Linked DNA regions of Homo sapiens: all the other regions are linked to region 3. The links are contacts of gene promoters, found by promoter capture Hi-C in blood cells and fetal thymus (Javierre and others, 2016). All regions are on one chromosome and are shown on one strand. Each heading gives the region's core, a stretch centred on a gene start or on the middle of the fragment in contact. The rest is flanking DNA. Distances are from core to core; before and after follow the strand shown.

Region 1 (3,084 bases), core at 239-2,738, 3.8 Mb before region 3:
GTCATGGCTGATAAGATAGTACCAGGGCACCCTCATTCTAGCATCAAGGCTGTGTGACAGCTCACCTCACCTTCTGACTAACCCAGTGCTTCCGTGCTAAGGGCCCCCTTAAATCTCTACTATCATTATGTGCTTGGCACAAAGGAATGATATATCTTAGATTTGGAAATGGAATTTTCTTCCCCAATCTTACTGTAGTCTAAGTACCCTTCACAGACCTTCTATTAATCCACAGCTGACTTAGCTTTAGTTCCTGGGTAAATAAAATATATGTGTTTTGCAAAGTACGATGTTGTAAGTCCAACTGCTTCTGAATCTAGCAGAGCTCAGTGAAACTCTTTGCCTACAGACATGCTCGTTTTTATTAATGTCACACTTGGTTTTCTCCATGTGAAAGACAGAATTTCTTTCATCCTATTTACCAATCCCTTCAGATCCTTGTGAGGAACCAACAGAACAGCTTTAAAAAATTAAAAGGTTTTTTTTCTTTCCCTTCACAAATAGGCACATGCTTACTTATACGGCAAGTTTAGAAAATCCACAATGCAAAACCATGTGGAAGGACAAAGAGAAAAAGACGCAGAAGGACTTCCTCTTCCAGCCAAGATGGACTTGCCCTCCCACCATGACCAACGAGAAAACTGAAACTGGATAGAATATTTGAGAAAACTGTTTTCAGAGATTGGAACACAGGCAGAACAGGACTGTGATATTTGAGAACAGGAAAACACTGGAGGCAAATCTCATACACACTTGTGTTTTCTGCCCAATGGCAGTTTCTTGACCACACGGAGAGAGGTAGAGACCTCCAGAAATGAGGCAATGTCACTGTCACTAAGCTGAGAGTCTTACAGTGCTAACATGTTGGGAGTTTATAGAATAAGGTACTGGAGAAGAGGGAACTACATACAGGTGAGGCCTCAAAAGAGTACGCAAAAGTTCTCTGCAGGTCTGTGGCCAAGGGCTGGGGGGAGTGCATGCAGCAGGCAGGCTCCACAAGGCCTCTGCAGAGTGGCTGGCACTTCTGAGGGCTGACTGGAGATGCCAGAGATCACACAAATTTGGGACACAGCAGAGTGGAGAGAACTCACTAAGTATACCTAGAACATGTGGCTGAGGCCCATGAGGATGAACCTTTCCTAGACTAAGAGTCACTGTCTAAGTCTACGAGCAAAACCCTAATAAATAAGCACAAACTAACAAAGGCCCAGGCTTGACAGGAGCAAAAGGGTGGTCAAATAATTTGACTAGGCATCAAGACATTTAACAGAAATAAGGTTAAAATGTTATGAAAATGAAAGACTGAATTTATAAGGAAGACTTAACAATCCTAAATGTGTACACATGACGGCTTCAAAATACTTTAAGCAAAAACTGCTCAAGTAGACAGATCTAGAATTACCGCTGGAGATTTTAACATAACTATCAATACACTGTAGCATTAGTAAAAAATCAGTAAGGACACAGAAGATATGCATAGTCACAAGCTCTACCAGTTGATCTAACAGACATCTAAAGAACACTGAACTGGCCGGGCACCGCGGCTCACGCCTGGATCCCGCCGAGGCGGGAGGATCACCTGAGGTCAGGAGTTTGAGACCAGCTTGGTCAACGTGGTGAAACCCTGTCTCTACTAAAAATATTTAAAAAATTAGCCGGGTGTGGTGGCAGGTGCCTGTAATTCCAGTTACTCCGGAGGCTGAGGCAGGAGATTCACTTGAACCTGGGAGGCGGAGGTTGCAGTGAGCCGAGATTGCACCACTGCACTCCAGCCTGTTGGGCAACAGCGAGACTCCATCTCCAAAAAAACAAACAAACAAACAAACAAAAAACCCTGAACCAACATCTGCAGAATACACATTCAAGTCTACATGGAAATTCACTAAGAAAGTATGTTCTCCAACTATACTATAAATGAATTAGAAATCAGCAACAATAACATACCTATAATATCTCTATGTAGTAGAAATTAAAAACAATATACTTTTAAATAACTCACGTGTCCATGAAAAGAAAAATCACAAGGAAAACTAGATGATATTTTGAATGGAATGAAAATGAAAACAAAATGTGTTGACTATAACTGAAACTAAAGTGGAATGAAGAGATCTAACTCCCTTCCTAAGAAGCAATAAAACAAGAGCAAAGTAAACTGAAAATAAGTTAAAGGGAGGAAAAAAATAAAAGACTGAAAATAAATGAAATAGAAAATGAAAAAAAGAGAAAATAAGTAATATTGAAACAGGCTTGTCCAACCTGAGGGCCACATGTGGCCCAGGCCAGCTGTGAATGCAGCCCAACACAAATTCATAAACTTTCTTGAAATATTATGAGATTTTTTTGCTTTTTTTTTTTTTTTGGCTTATCAGCTTATCGTTAGTGTATTTTATGTGTGGCCCAAGACAATTCCTCTCCTTTCATTGTGGCCCAGGGAAGCTAAAAGATTGAATACACCTGTACTAAACGATCATTAACGATCTAAAATAAATGATCTTGTAAAGAATTGAGAAACCTCCAGCTAGACTGACTGATCCAGGAAAACATAGCAAAAACACAAATTACCAATATGAAGAGACTGCAATACAGATGAGATTCTACGGACATTAAAAGCATATTAAAGGAATATTCTGAACAATTCTATGCCAATAAATCCAACAACTTAGATGAAATTTTCTTAAAAGACACAAATTGCCAAAACTGACACAACAGAAAAATCTGAAAATATCTCTTAAAAAATTTTAATTTTCCCACAAAAAACTAAAACCAAACCAAACAAAACCCTCCGGGTTCAGCTGACTTCACTGGTGAATTCTATCAAACATGTAAAGAACAACTCATACCCATCTCTACACAGCTATTTCCAAAAATAGGAAAGGAGACAGCACTTTCCATCTAATTTTGTGACACCCAGTATCACCTTGACACCAAAATCAAAAAAAGACATTACAAGAAAAGGATACAAAAGTCCAATATCTCCCATCAACACCAATATAGAAATCTTAAAAAAAAACAAAAAACACAAACACCTAGAAATCAAATCTAGCAATATCCCAAAGGACAACGCACCACAACCAAGTGGGGTTT
Region 2 (2,917 bases), core at 248-2,747, 3.3 Mb after region 3:
TGTTTAGGGCCCATGTGCTGTGATTTCTGATTGATAAATGTAGCTGAAGTTGCCCATGTTTAGAGATTTAAAGGTTCAGTGTGGTTGGGTTGAACTGGAAAACAGACTTACTAAAATGCTTCTCTCAACTTCTGTTTTGTCATGTTTTTCTTCTAGACCCAACATGAGTGAAGTTTCCTGCAAGAAACGGGACGACTATTTGGAATGGCCAGAGTATTTTATGGCTGTGGCCTTCTTATCAGCACAGAGAAGCAAAGATCCAAATTCCCAGGTAAATGAATTTCACGGGAGAATGCTTAGATACTCACAGGCAAAGAGATTACTGCACATGAGCAGAAAGGGGAGACTCAGTGGACGCCTGTCAACTTAAAAGTGCAGGGTCGGTCTGCCTTTTGTGCTGCGTTTCTACAAGCTTAGTTCTTCCTGTGAGACAGAAAATTGTCACATGCCATTGTTAACTGCCTCTTGTGCCCCTTCTGGGACTGGGGGTGCACTTTCCTTGGCTTGTGGGTGCTGCCACAAAAAACCAGGCAAGGAGACCGACAGCTCTCAGCACCTGCAGCAGCTATGCGTCTGTTTTGAGTTCTGCAGTCCCCCTGGTTTTATTCCCTGCTTCCACAGCGGCAGACCAGCCAGTTGCAGGCACCAAGCCTTTGGGCATGTTTCCTTCTAGGTCGGCGCCTGCATCGTGAATTCAGAAAACAAGATTGTCGGGATTGGGTACAATGGGATGCCAAATGGGTGCAGTGATGACGTGTTGCCTTGGAGAAGGACAGCAGAGAATAAGCTGGACACCAAATACCCGTACGGTAGGGCAAGTTTTATGTCCCATTCTGCTTAGTGACATAGCCTGGTGAGTGCCTAATTAAGAAAGTTGGTCAGAAGGCATCATCTCCCTTTTGTCATCAACAACTGGAAAGAAAAGTATCCTACTGAACTACCCCAATTTCCTGGCCTTGTCTCTTAAGTTCCAAAGAGAGCCACGGAGAGAAGCATGGTAGTGGCCACACAGGCTGGCCCTGAGATCCAGGGCTCTGCTGCCTGTGCTGAGCCTGGCAGGCTTCACTGGCAACCTGCTGGCCTGCACCACACCAGTGCACTGATAGTCGGCGTCTCTGCAGAGGGTCACAGCCCCTTGCAGAGATAGCTGAGGGATGTGCATGGTGTCTCTGTGGGTTCCTTTTTTTACTACTTGGAAGCAGGGTCGGCTAACCAGGGGCTGGCTCGGGCTTTGGTCTGATGAGAAGCAGGCTTCATTCAGCCCATGTGCCTGATGAGAACATCTGGCTCAAGCTCATTGCTGGCAAGCAGGAATCAAACTGTGAACTAGACATCAGGAGATGGAGGATCCAGTTGCTTCCTCCAGTTACAGGGGATGCTGCAATTTCACAGTAGGCTGTGGTCAGACCAAAAGCCAGAAGTGAGGCTGGGCACGATGGCTCACGCCTGTAATCCCAACACTTTGGGAGGTGGAGACGGGCAGATCACCTGAGGTCAGGAGTTCGAGACCAGCCTAGCCAACATGGTGAAACCCCATCTCTACTAAAAATACAAAAATTAGCTGTGCGTGGTGGCAGGTGCCTGTAATCTCAGCTACTCGGGAGGCTGAGGAAGGAGAATCGCTTGAACTCAGGAGGTGGAGGTTGTAGTGAGCCAAGACTGCGCCACTGCACTCCAGCCTGGGTGACAGAGCAAGACTCTGTCTCAAAAAACAAAACAAAAACAAACAAACAAAAAACAAAACAAAAACAAAGAAAAGAAAAAGCTAGAAGTGTAGAACTGTAAACCTTTGGCTTGACTGTCTCTGGATTTTCCCCTTGAAATTAGGGAAGGCTGCTTCTTAGAGTTTGTTGCCTGTCTAAGCCCCAGGGAAAATTCCTTCAGAGATTGCCTGGGAGGGTCCAGCCATAGCTTTACTTTTCCTTGCATTCCTTGGAGAATATGCAAGCAATGCTGGAAAAGAGGCAAATCATGCTGGGTATGCAGGTTGCTGATTTTTGTAAGGTTAGGCCCTGTATTTTATGTCTGAGAATGAACAGACTGGCGCTGTTGGAAGTGAAGGGAGAGTAAGGCCATCCAAATGGGAAAGATTGTGTCTTCAGGCCAAGGCGTGATGTACGACCTTTCTTCTTTGTTGACTCTCCTGGTAGGTTTTCTTCTGGGTTTTTCTCATGAAGAATCCAAGTCAACATTTAGTCTAATTTATATATTTTTACTAATGTTCCTGGACCTCAATCATGTTAAATAAGCCCCATAAATTTCTTTCTAAATTGCCTAGGGGCAACTTCTCCATGTTTGAAAGAAAAAGTTAAGAGGTACCTGGAGAGAGAGGAGGAACTGAGGACTGCAAAGCAGTCTGGGTTTCCAGGATGTGAAAAGTAGTTTAGGGATGAAGGGGACCGAATCCTCAGATCCTTGATTTAACCTCACCCTCCCTCGTCGGAGTGGGAAGAGAGGATGGAGTTGGGGGAGGGTAAGACTGTCTTCTCAGCACAGCTTCAGAGCCGGTGGTAGTGGATGACTAATTAGAAAAATGCGCGGACTCAGAAACTGTCACCCTGATTTTGATTCTATAAGCTTTTGATGGTAAGAAAGAAGGGAAGTGATTAGTTGTTTTTAAGTCCATGCAAAGATAATTTTTCACAGTGCGGTTCAAAGTCCCCTATAAAAATGGTGAAAGTGGAGGGTCGATATGTTAAAGGTCTGCATTGAACTGTGTGACGGCCACAGTCAGTATGTCACCGAGTCTGGGCAGTGAAATATTGGCCCTGGGGCTGGACTTTGATATGGAGGAATTCTGGGGGGATGGCGGTCCGTCATACTCAAGCTGGTGCAAAAGATACCCGTGGTTGGACAGTGCGGAGGGGTCCTGGGTGAGCACTGAGTGGGCCTCCCAATGGGGCCTGTGCCTTCTTCA
Region 3 (2,942 bases), core at 309-2,808:
TATCTGTGTTGGATTACTTGTTACATCAGTCATGATGATATTTGGTTGGCAAAGAGTTCGCTTGATTTTTTTCTGTCAAAGTATTTTTAATATTTTGGTAAACACTCTTCCATGAGGCCTCATCTTGTGAAGTTGAAATTACAGCATTATTTTTATTAGAGAAAACAAGTGAAAATGAGAAAAAGTCCTTCAAGCTTTGGAGTTAGTTAATGCTCAGCCTGTAAAACGATTACTAACAAATAATCCCAGAGGAAACTGGGTTCTGGTCTGGGCCAATTTTAAAATATGCCATTTTGGGCAAATCTTCTCATTTCTGGGTACCTCAACGTAATCCCTGATGAAAATAAAACTCTGAGATCGAGTTCGCCCTCCCTGACAGGGAGTTGTAAATACCAGGTACTTTTGAGAGCTTTCTAACTTAACGTGATTTTTTTCCATCAATAAAATGTCCATCTCTGTTTTAAAACATGATTTTAATTAAAAAATTCACTCTTTAATAAACAAGGCGTTTGACACCCTCCAAAGAAGTCTGCCTGAAGGCCCTGCCGTCTCTTAATTGTTATTATGTAACATCCTTTAAAGGGCTAAAGTATGAAGGTCAAGCGGGAACTGAAGCAGCAGTCAAGTCTTGTGATGCCGGGAGGAAGCGTCCAGTGAATCTCTAGTCTCTTATTTTCCAAAGTGGCAGCGAGAGGAGGGCGGCTCTGGGCGTTAAGGTGTTGGCCAGTTTAAAACCGCTCTGTGCTCCCAGGGAGCTTCTGTTCCTAAGGCTTCCCAAGCCAAGGCAGGAGGAAACGGCAGGGCTTTGAGAGCTGAGCAGCGGTGAGGTGGGAAAAGACCGAGGGCAGGGGTTTGGAAATACCGCATCCTGTGCTACACACAAAGAAAATGCTCACTTTGGGATGGGGCACTAGCAGTGTCGGCGGGTGCCAAGGGGCAACGACTAGAACTGGGAGTGCATTCTCCACAGGGTGACAGGCTCCTCTCTCCTGCGGCCAGCGCCACAAGCAGCGGGTTCCTGGCTGATCGGAGGGTGGGAACGGGGCTGCGGACCCCGTTGCGCTCCAGGAGGAGCGCCGGCCCTTACCTCGCCCGTCCGGCTTCATCAGCAGCGCGTGGCCCACCAGTGGGTAGGCGCGGGCCACCGTGGGGATGGGCCGCATCTGCTGCCATTTCCGCGCGTAGCTCGCCACCCTCTGCAGCAGGCTCAGGACCAGACTGGCGCCGGCCAGGGAAAGGGCACTCGCCGCGCCCCACAGCAGCAGCTTCTGCCACACGAGCCCCAGCCAGAGCCCCGCCATCGCCCCGGCTGGCGGCCGCGGGGTGCACTCCGGGAAAGTGCGGGCCCGCGGGGGCGTGGTGCGAGGCGGTGCCGGCCGCACACCGCCCACTTCCCCGCGCGGACCTGGCGCGCTCCCCGCTGCGGGGTCGCCCGGTCCCCGGAACGACGTTTCCCGCCCGGGCGGCGGCCAGAGAGGGCGCCACGGGGCTGTTCCTGCGCCCGGCCCGGCCTACGCAGCACCGCGGCCTCCACGCCCCAGCCGAAAGCGAAAGACCGGAAAACGGTTTCCGGGCCCCAGGGCGTAGTGATTGCACTGGAGGCCCGGAGGCTGCGCCGGGAGGAGGCCGGCGACACTTCCGGCCGCCTCCGGATGCGGGGTCAGGGGCGTCGGAAAGGTCACCGCGGCAGCCCGGCGCGCCCCAGCGGGGCTGTTCTGAGGGTGCTGCGAGGTTGCTCTACGTGCGGGATTCCGCGGGCGGGCAGCCTGCTCTGGAGAGGAAAGGAAGGCGCATCCGGCTCGGAGCCCAGCTCTGCTGCGCATCGCTCGCTCCCTGCGCAACTTGCAGCCCCGGGAGGCGGGGCGCGTCCTGGCTCCCGCGGGGTCACATGGAGCAGCGGGCGCTGTAATCCAGGGAGGCTTTGGGGACACGTTAGGGAAGTCAGCTACCCGTGTGTGTCCGCTGGCCCACTGGGACACTGGGAGCTCAATGAGGTGGTTATGAGCCAGGTATTTTCCAAAATACGCACCAGGCACCAGACCGAGGAAGCCGGAGCCCCGGAGAGCACGCAGGGGCGGGTGGGAGAGGAAGGCGGGCGAGGCTGCTCAGCGGGTGCCGGGAGACCGCAGCCGCGGGGTACTCGCAGAAGAGCCAAGACCTGCCACCCAGCCCGGGAAGGGAGGGAAGGGCCGCGAGAGGGTGCCCCATTTCAGCCTGGGGAGACGCGTGTGCTGGCCGCCAGTCTCTCTTCCCGGCAGAGGGCCCCAGTGCTGACCCCAGCCCCTTTTCCACGCTCGATGCTTCTTACAAAGTGGCCGGGCGAGGAGTGTCGCTCCCCGAGAGGCCAGGCCCTTCCTAAACACTAAAGTGCCAGGAAGATGAAACTGAATGTCCTGGATGCCCGCTTTGCTTAATTACTAATTACGTTCGTTCACTCGAAGCCACTGCATAAGTTGGCCACAGCCACCTGCAGGGCCTCTTTAGTGCAGAGAAAAACATGCCTAAGGCTTTTCTCCATTTGAATTTGTTTTAAGTCATCTGCATGGGCTGACGTGAAATAGCAAGTGAACAAAACAAGTTGCAGAACGGAGTGTGTAAAGTAATGCCTTCTTTTGGAGAAAAGGTTTCTTTCTCTACGGCTCCACTAATGTCTGCAAGTAAAAATACTGATCAGCTCTATGGAGTGGGAATGAAGATGGGGAACTTACGCTTTTTATTTCATTCACGTCTACATTGTTTAATCACTTTAACACTTTAAAAAATAAATATGTTCACTTAGTATCTTTAAGCAAGTCTCATGGGCTTTAGTTTCCTCCTCTCTAAAGGGTTGAGGCTGAGCTATAATAAGGTTAATTACAGCTATAAAAGTAAACAATTTGTCTACATACTGGGGATTCTAAAATAGGGGGAGGAAGGAAGGGGAGTAATGGTTGAAAAACTGT

What was found. Contacts are between HindIII fragments. The CHiCAGO score rates a contact against its expected background, and 5 or more counts as called.
Region 1: a contact is called between a fragment that was not itself captured here and the fragment with the promoter of CYP4V2 in region 3, in 1 of 17 cell types (M0 macrophages). The highest score is 6.6, in M0 macrophages.
Region 2: a contact is called between a fragment that was not itself captured here and the fragment with the promoter of CYP4V2 in region 3, in 1 of 17 cell types (activated CD4 T cells). The highest score is 6.1, in activated CD4 T cells.

The regions. Positions count from the first base shown.
Region 1 is chr4:189,945,587-189,948,670 of GRCh38, reverse strand. The region is part of intron 2 of FRG1 (FSHD region gene 1); the gene reads right to left. Among named protein-coding and RNA genes, the nearest start is that of FRG1, 6.3 kb to the right of the region's middle. The HindIII fragment of the contact is 3,672 bases long and covers 1-3,084 here.
Region 2 is chr4:182,912,815-182,915,731 of GRCh38, reverse strand. DCTD (dCMP deaminase) reads left to right here. Exons shown (of 6, transcript NM_001921.3): 2 at 157-271; 3 at 674-809. The coding sequence starts at 164. Among named protein-coding and RNA genes, the nearest start is that of DCTD, 3.1 kb to the left of the region's middle. The HindIII fragment of the contact is 2,165 bases long and covers 415-2,579 here.
Region 3 is chr4:186,190,183-186,193,124 of GRCh38, reverse strand. It overlaps CYP4V2 (cytochrome P450 family 4 subfamily V member 2), which reads right to left and starts at 1,558. Exons shown (of 11, transcript NM_207352.4): 1 at 1,088-1,558. The coding sequence starts at 1,301. FLJ38576 (a long non-coding RNA gene) reads left to right here and starts at 1,635. Exons shown (of 1, transcript NR_046264.1): 1 at 1,635-2,942. RefSeq lists a silencer at 1,232-1,761. The HindIII fragment of the contact is 5,614 bases long and covers 197-2,942 here.